3 separate regions of the Homo sapiens genome follow, and all the other regions are linked to region 3. The links are contacts of gene promoters, found by promoter capture Hi-C in blood cells and fetal thymus (Javierre and others, 2016). All regions are on one chromosome and are shown on one strand. The core of a region is centred on a gene start or on the middle of the fragment in contact, and the rest is flanking DNA. Distances in the headings are between cores, read along the strand shown. Region 1 overlaps ZNF407 (zinc finger protein 407). Region 2 overlaps ZNF407 (zinc finger protein 407). Region 3 holds the start of SMIM21 (small integral membrane protein 21).

What was found. Contacts are between HindIII fragments. The CHiCAGO score rates a contact against its expected background, and 5 or more counts as called.
Region 1: a fragment that was not itself captured here is called in contact with the fragment with the promoter of SMIM21 in region 3 in 2 of 17 cell types (non-activated CD4 T cells and naive CD8 T cells); the score reaches 5.7 in non-activated CD4 T cells.
Region 2: a fragment that was not itself captured here is called in contact with the fragment with the promoter of SMIM21 in region 3 in 2 of 17 cell types (M0 macrophages and M1 macrophages); the score reaches 7.8 in M0 macrophages.

What each region holds. Positions count from the first base shown.
Region 1 is chr18:74,674,057-74,676,756 of GRCh38, forward strand. All of the region lies in intron 3 of ZNF407 (zinc finger protein 407), which reads left to right. Among named protein-coding and RNA genes, the nearest start is that of ZNF407, 78 kb to the left of the region's middle. The HindIII fragment of the contact is 167 bases long and covers 1,368-1,534 here.
Region 2 is chr18:74,649,069-74,651,768 of GRCh38, forward strand. All of the region lies in intron 3 of ZNF407 (zinc finger protein 407), which reads left to right. Among named protein-coding and RNA genes, the nearest start is that of ZNF407, 53 kb to the left of the region's middle. The HindIII fragment of the contact is 4,748 bases long and covers 1-2,700 here.
Region 3 is chr18:75,426,334-75,429,033 of GRCh38, forward strand. It overlaps SMIM21 (small integral membrane protein 21), which reads right to left and starts at 1,370. Exons shown (of 3, transcript NM_001037331.3): 1 at 1,102-1,370. The coding sequence starts at 1,230. LOC105372200 (a long non-coding RNA gene) reads left to right here. Exons shown (of 4, transcript XR_935636.3): 4 at 1-328. The HindIII fragment of the contact is 2,673 bases long and covers 1-1,538 here.

The DNA.
Region 1 (2,700 bases), core at 201-2,700, 750 kb before region 3:
TACGATTATTTTAAGTTTTGATGCTTCGTCTCATTAATATGGAGATTTAACTAGTTTTGTTTATTTCTGGAAAATCTAAGGCTTTTGTTTTTAACCCTTCCATGGTTGCTACCTTCACTCCCTCACCACTTAATGTGTCCTTTCTCAGGCCTTTGCCTGCCACTCCGCTGAAACCAGTGCTGTGCTGGAGCTGGAGCATATGGCTGTGGTGGCTCGTGAGAACCACTTGTTAGAGATCCAGGACTTTATAGCTTGAAATTGGGAGTGCTGACATCATGAAAGTTGTCAAAGTTTGCAGATCAGGTCCCTACCTCTGTCATCCTGTAGCTGGTTTACAGCCCACTGTTCTCTGAAAATATATTAACACATTACCAAATATCTTCATCTTACCAAATTCTCTGTTATCAAGTGGTCAATGATCAATACCTTTGCCCACTTTGTCCTTAAAATACTTTTTTCATGGCTTCTCTGACACCATAGTATCCTGGTATTATTTTGGTTTTGTTTATTATATCTCTCTTTGTAGTCTTATTTTCTGCTTCTTCACTACCTCTACCACTATCTCTACCTAACTTGTAAATGTTGAACTACCCCAGGGCTTGGCTCTGGGATCCATCCCTTGTCTGCTTACACCAGGGATTAGTAAACTTTTCTGACAAAGGCCAGATAGCTCTATTCCTCTAGTGAAACAGCAATAGGCAATGTGTAAATGAGTTAGTGTGGCTATGTTTCTGCTTACGAAGATGGGTGGCTGACAGGATTTGGCTGAATGTTGTAGTTAGGTAATTTCTGATCCATACCCCCTCGCTGGGTAGTGTCCATTAATAACATGGCTTTAAAAAGTGTCTCTGTGACTAATCACCAAATGTATATCTCTAGTCTTGAGTTTTTTTCTTTGGGCACCAGACTTGTGCATTTTATTGCTTATTTGAAATGTTGGTTTGTGTTTTCTGAAGATGTCTCAAACTTAATATGGTCCAAATAGAATCCCTTATTTGTGTCCCAAAACTTTTCTTGCATTTCCTGTCACTCTCTACTCACTAACTGCTCACTACTCTGTTGGCCTTATCTGTCCCTTGAAGTTGCCAAGCATGTTTCTGCCTGAGGGGCCTTTATACTTATGCTTTCTCTGTCTCTGCTGGCTCTTTGTTAACATTTGGGTGTAGGTTCAGTTGCCTTTTCTTGACCAGCCACTCATCACTTAACCTCTTATGTTTCTTCATAGATCACTTACCGAAAAAGTACTTTGTATATTTATTTCCTTCTTTATTGTCAGTCTCTCCCACTTGAGTGTAAGTTCCTTAAGAGTAAGAACTTTGTGCATTTTCCTTTCTTTAGCCTCTTAAGCAGTATCCTCCCTCATAGTAAGCTTCACTTACTGTTTGTGGCGAATGAATAAATGAATGTATTTTTTATGTGTTCCAGATATTGGGAAGAACACACAGAGACAGGCATCTAAAATAAGTAGTAGAGTCAAACAAAGAAAAGTAATATAAAGCAGAGTATTGTAAGAGGACGTGTAAAAAGGAGAGAAAGCTTTCTGTCTTTTCTGTGCTGTCTTTCCTTTTTTGCCTTTTATTGCATAGCTTTTCTGATTTTAGTTCCTGTTACGCTGTTAGCTTTGAAGTTATATACCCTTTTTGGTTTTAATGGTTACCCTAGCAATTACACCATTATCCTTGACTTATCCATGTTTAATATTAAGTGGTACTTTTACCCTCTTTCCGACAATTCGAGGATCTTGAACACTTGAATCCCACTCATTTCCCTCCCAGTGACTACACCATTGTTATCAAGCATTTAACTCTGTAGACCTTTCAAACCTATAGACGTTTAAAGCCTTCATTGTTGTTGTTTTCCTATTAGAATTTTTATTTTATATATAAAAAAAGTTGTTTTACACATCATTTAGGTAGTTTAAAAATATATTATGCTTCTGCATGTATAAAAAGAAAATAAAACAAGTCTACATTCAAGTTCTACTACTTCTGAATCACTTTTCAACTTACATTTTTTTGATGCCTGTGCTTCCTCTTAGAATTTTTTTTTTTTGGAGATGGAATCTTGCTCTGTCACCCAGGCTGGAGTACAGTGGCACGATCTCGGCTCACTGCAAACTCCACCTCCTGGGTTCAAACGATTCCTCAGCCTCAGCCTCCTGAGTAGCTGGGATTACAGATGCATGCTGCCACGCCCGGCTAATTTTTTGTGTTTTAGTAGAGACAGGGTTTCACTGTGTTGCCCAGGCTGGTCTCAAACTCCTGAGCTCAGGCAATCCGCCTGCCTTCTCCTTCCAAAGTGCTAGGATTATAGGCATGAGCCACTGTGTCCCGGCCTAGAATATTGTTTTCTTTGCCACCAAGAGAATGGGTGATATAGCATTTTTTTTTTTTTTTTTGAGACGGAGTCTCGCTCTGTCACCCAGGCTGGAGTGCAGTGGCGGGATCTCGGCTCACTGCAAGCTCCGCCTCCCGGGTTCACGCCATTCTCCTGCCTCAACCTCCCGAGTAGCTGGGACTACAGGCGCCCACCACCGTGCCCGGGTAATTTTGTATTTTTAGTAGAGACGGGGTTTCACCGTGTTAGCCAGGATGGTCTCGATCTCCTGACCTCGTGATCTGCCCGCCTTGGCCTCCCAGAATGCTGGGATTACAGACGTGAGCCACTGTGCCCGGCCAGTATTTTTTAAAAATAATGATT
Region 2 (2,700 bases), core at 199-2,698, 780 kb before region 3:
TGAGAAATAGCAGTTTCAAGCACTGTAGAATATGCTACTATCTAGATATACAAATTTTTAGAAAGTTATTTTTGGTTTGCTATTTCCACTCAATTTTAAAAAGTCCTATTTACTGCTGAGGTACTATAAGAATATATTGAGCTGGGCTCAAGGGATGGTTGTTTTTGAAGGACCAATAAAGTGTTAATTTGCATCATAATTACGCTGTCACCATTACATGTGTTAATGGGGTACTGGAAAATTCTTATAAAATCTGGCTAAATGTAAGATGGTCTCTAGTCTATTTTAGAAGTGCTGCTGTAAGTGAAATAGGTGAAAGTGGTCTTATGTCAACACATCTGGTAATTATCATTATAATATTAGAAAATAAGTATGATTTTTTACATTGTGGCTAGGGACATTGATAGTCAAATGCTTCACAACATAAATTTGTGCTAGTCTGAAAAATTGGAATGTGTTTAAATATTAAAGACATTTTAGTATTCACCACTAAAATTTATTTTAAAAATAGGGTTTTAGAACTTACACTGTTGCCTGGTCCAATCCATCTAGTGGACAGGTAAAGAAATTTGGGTCAAGAGCTTAAGTGACTTTTCACAAATGGAGACAAGAACCCAGGACTTGTGACTCTCGGGTCAGGGCTGTTTCTATTTTATCCCACTGGCATTCTAATTAGCTTTAATGTAGCTCTTAAACTTTTCAGTCTCACTATTTTTAGCTACCATTCTTTTTAACAAGGGAAATAATGGACACAGGTTTAAGCAGCAAAGTTAATTAATTGATCAACATTCGTCCATTCATTTTCAAACATTTTCTGAGTGCCAAACGTGGGAACTCTAGTTTCAGTAACCAACAGTGGTGAATCTATTATAATTCCTTTTGAGTTTAGATGGTCACTTCTATCAAAGGATAGAATTAACTATTAAGTGATGAAGATACACAAGCAATTTGGGTATTCATTGTGAGGCAACTGTTTTCTCTTTTCCTTAAGATGATAGAACATGGGCAATGTGAATTATATCTAAAATCAGCTGGATTGTCAAAAATAGCATTTCACTTTATTTTGTATTAGGAACAAATAATCGAAAATGTCTTTGTCATAGTCTGTTTGACTAGTGCCCATTGGCAGAATAATTTTATTTCCCCTGCCACCCCTCCCTGCTGTCTCTTAGTTCTTAGCTGAAAAGTTCCTTTTCAGCTAGTATCTGATGGACTATATGGTCTCTGTGCATGGTATCGTTTACAATTGTTGGTGCTTACTTAGTCTGCATCATGTAGCACTCCTGCCTAGTCACTTTAAGGGATGCAAAGACTGACAATTTCTTTGTTTTGAATTGCTGCAGTACTTCAAAAGAAGCCCCATTGAGATTTAGAGACTTGTAAACATTGAGAGAAACGGAGCACCTTTCTGCATCCACAGACAAGTTAGGTTGATGACTGCTGTGTTGGTGTAGTTCAGCAGACATCCTGTTAGTCACTCTTTCTAGGTAGTTTGGTTGACAGGGGTCTGCACTTGGTCATACACTTTAGGGTGGGCTCATGTATGAAACAGGCAAACTCACAGACTTTGCAGGTTCTCTTTGTGAGAGAGACAGAGAACACTTACATAGGGCCTAGGTGGCATTTTTGAAGTATTCATGGAAGGGGTGGGCCACGGGAATATTGTTTGTTACCCCAAAGAACACATTATCTTAAGGTGTAGAAAAAAATTTACTGGCTTTATAGTAATGTCATAACAGTTTCACTGTAATTAAATATTTTTGCACTAATGATTATACTGTGATAGAGAGCATAATAAATTATTGAGAACTACATTTCCATTTCTGTAGTGGAGGGGGCAAGAAATTGCTATATATGTGTGTGTGTGTCTATCTATCTATCTATCTATATATAAATATAATATTTCCCCCCTTAGCTTGGTGGGACTGTAGCTCAAGGGTAAAGATAGAAATTTTGGTGTTTATGTTACAAAATTATTCTTAAACAACCCATTTAAGTCTTTCTGGGTTGTTTTAGTCTTGATGTGTTAGAGAGTGATAATTTTATGCAAGTTATGATTAAAACCCTGTTACTGTCATCCTTAAAGAGCACATTAAAAATACCCTGTTTGGAAAATGACAGTTTTAAAAATAGACAAAATTATATGTTAGTTATGAAGAGCGATGGAATTTATTGAGCCGAAATGTTTTGAAGGAGATTTAAGAATCTTGCACTTTGGGAAGAAGTTAATGACTGATTAACAACAGCAATTAAAAGATGAGGAAAAGGTATATAATTAAAATTGCAGTACTTGCTTTGTCAAGTACGAGTGTCATCTATTGTGTACTTGTTAAAAGCTGAAGAAAAAGAAACCAGCATTTAATTTCAGCCCGGTTTTGAAGAAGAGGCCGATAATTTGCCTGTAGATGCCTGCGTGAAGGTTGTAACTCATGTTTAAGCGAGACTGTGTCATTAGAAGTTCACAGCCATGTATTTTCTGTTGACAGTCATCGACAGAGAATATTTGGCAGTCAGAAGTAATTTAACTTAATTAATGGGATGCATATTTGATGGAGGAATAAAATATTCAGGCTCAGCAAAGTGGAAAAAAGGAAAGATTTAGTGGGAGTAAAAGGTTGAAGAATGTAATTTGTGCATTCATTCTGCTGCTCAGAATTATGAATTGTCTTGCAGAGATATAAAGCCGAGGTGATCCTTAGA
Region 3 (2,700 bases), core at 120-2,619:
GAGTCTCGCTCTGTCACCCAGCCTGGAGTGCAGTGGCACAATCTCGGCTCACTGCAAGCTCTGCCTCCCGGGTTCACACCATTCTCCTGCCTCAGCCTCCCAAGTAGCTGGGACTACAAGTGCCCGCCACCACGACTGGCTAATTTTTTGTATTTCTAGTAGAGATGGGGTTTCACTGTGTTAGCCAGGATAGTATCAATCTCCTGACCTTGTGATCTCCTCGCCTCGGCCTCCCAAAGTGCTGAGATTACAGGCATGAGCCACTGCACCCGGCCCTAGACCATTACTTTTAAAATGTAAAAAAAAAAAAAAAAAAAAAAAAAAAAAAAAAAAAAAAATGGAAAAAGGAAAAGGAAATAAAGAAGCAGCAGTGGGGATCAAGACAGAGGAAGGAGATGCTACCTGCCTGCTCCCATCCATCTCCTCTTCACAGTCAGAAACACTAAGAGGAACCCTGTGCTACAGGAGAAGACATTCCAGAAATTTTGTCTTAGGACTTTAACCTTTCCGATATATGACTGGGTCATAAACTTCCTTTTCAGAAGCTATTGATCACCCCATCACCTCTGCAAATGGGGTGTCTATAAATGCCATCTGTTGCCTGCACATTGGCTACTGGTTCATGAATGGTTAAATTTGTTGCAACTTTTGCTTCTGTCCTGTAATGAAGGAAAAGAAACTTTCTTCTAGGAGTGCAGTATCAAATTTGTCTGGGTAGGTTGAGTTTGTAGGTGTTGCAGGTGCACCTAGGCTTAAAGCATTTGGAGGTATCCTTGCATCTGTGTTAAGAGGCTCTCTCTGTAGGGGAGAGATCATTGACTCATTGGCCTGTATACTGATGTAATGTCAAGGGGAGGGCCCAGTACCTTTTCTGAAAGGGGCAGCTCTTCCTCAGATTGGGAATTGGAATTGGGAGGTTGTCTTGGCCAGAACTGAGAAAGAAAGAGCTCTGGATTGACGTCTCATCTTAAACTTCGTAGAATCTGGATTTGAGAGACAGAGCACTCACAGGAGATTGGGGCAAAAGAGTGCTTTGTAGGACCATACCTGTGCAGTGATACGTCTCTCTCATAACCCAAAGTTAAAGACCCATAAACTCACTGTGGTAAGTGCTTTCTTCTGCAGCAAATTCCCCTTGAATATCCGTCCCATTCCTGCAGAGTCTTGTTTAAATGTTCCCAGCTGTGCTATAGGGAATCGGGGAGGAGCTGTGGACACATACTGGTCCATGTGGGGGCTGCGGCGGTGACCAGTGAGAGGTCTCCTTGATGACAGCGACTCTGAGGACACAGAGCTGGTGCTATAAGACCTGGTAACTAAGTTCCCAAGGAGCTTTTCTCTTCTTTGCCAACCTTGAAGATCTGGGTATTATTTTATGAAGCTGGATGGAATCTTCCCACATGTAGAGTTCTCAGGTCCAGGTATTATTTTATGAAGTCGGATGGAATCTTCCCGCACATGGAGTTCTGAGGTTTCTCAGGTTGCTCTCTGGCTCAGTGATGCTGTGTGAGAATGTTCAACCATATCTCCACAGCACAAGCTTTGGATCTGATGTCAAGAAGCTTTTGTGAATATTAAAAATGAACCGCATCTCCCTGAATCAAAATAAATACTACTATATGCACTTCAATGGAAATAAAATCTGGGATTCTTTTTGGGCCCTAAGCAAAATGTAGAAATTCATTTTCCCATCAGACTTTTCAGTAACTTTCTTTTAACCTAATGAGACACTCCACAGGAGACTAACATTTCTTTCGCTGAATTCCAAGTGTAGGTTTCCTGGGTTGTCCATTTAATTGTTAAAGTGAGAGAGATTCTGCTGGAAGACAAGCACCATGGAACAGCAGGAGGAAAGCTGAATGGAGGTTACTTGGGAGCTACCCCAGGAAGAAGCGCTGTGCAGACCATCATCGCAGGGTGGAGAGTAGCCATGAGACGTGTGTGGTGGCCTCTGGATGCTGCTGTGCTGCCTCATGGGAATTTTCACAGATCTTCCACTGTTTGTAAATGGTGCCCAATGAGCGGAAAATTAAGTGGTACTTAACACACACACGTTCACCAAATACTTGCAGCGTTATCCCCATAGTGTGGATGGCTTTTGACAAGGTGCCTGATGAAGAGAGATGCACATAGTTGTGAGTCCCAGCCTACAGAAGCTCATGATGGGTGCTCCACAGTGTTGGTGTTGAGTAAAAATGCCCAGGACAGTATGCACTGTGCTTGACGCACAGTATGACTAAGAAAATACCTGTTATTATGTGAACAGTGACCATATGCACAGCATACAAATCAGTAGCCCAGTGCTGTTCTGATGGTCTTGTCCTGAGTGGTTTTTCCCATCTAGTTGGAGACAAGACTCATTCTCTAGAAAGAAGAGCAAAAAATGGTGGGTCCCACCAAGGCCATGGACAAGGGAAAGGCAGAAACGTGCAGAGGGAGCAGAGACAGAGGAGGCTTGAGACCTGTGTGGAGGGACAGGAAGGGAGCTCGGAAGCCCGTTTTGTAGCAGATCCCAAATTGTGAAAGTTGATAGTTGTGGAGCACACATATGCAGAGTAACATCTAGAATTCTCAGAGTTGGTGATTTAAAGAAAAGAGAAAAAAAAAACACTGACTAAAAATTAATCTTCAATTTCCCACAGGCCTTAAACTTCCAGCTGCTAAAAGACAGTGGGGTGTAGGGGGTGGAAAGAGACCTCA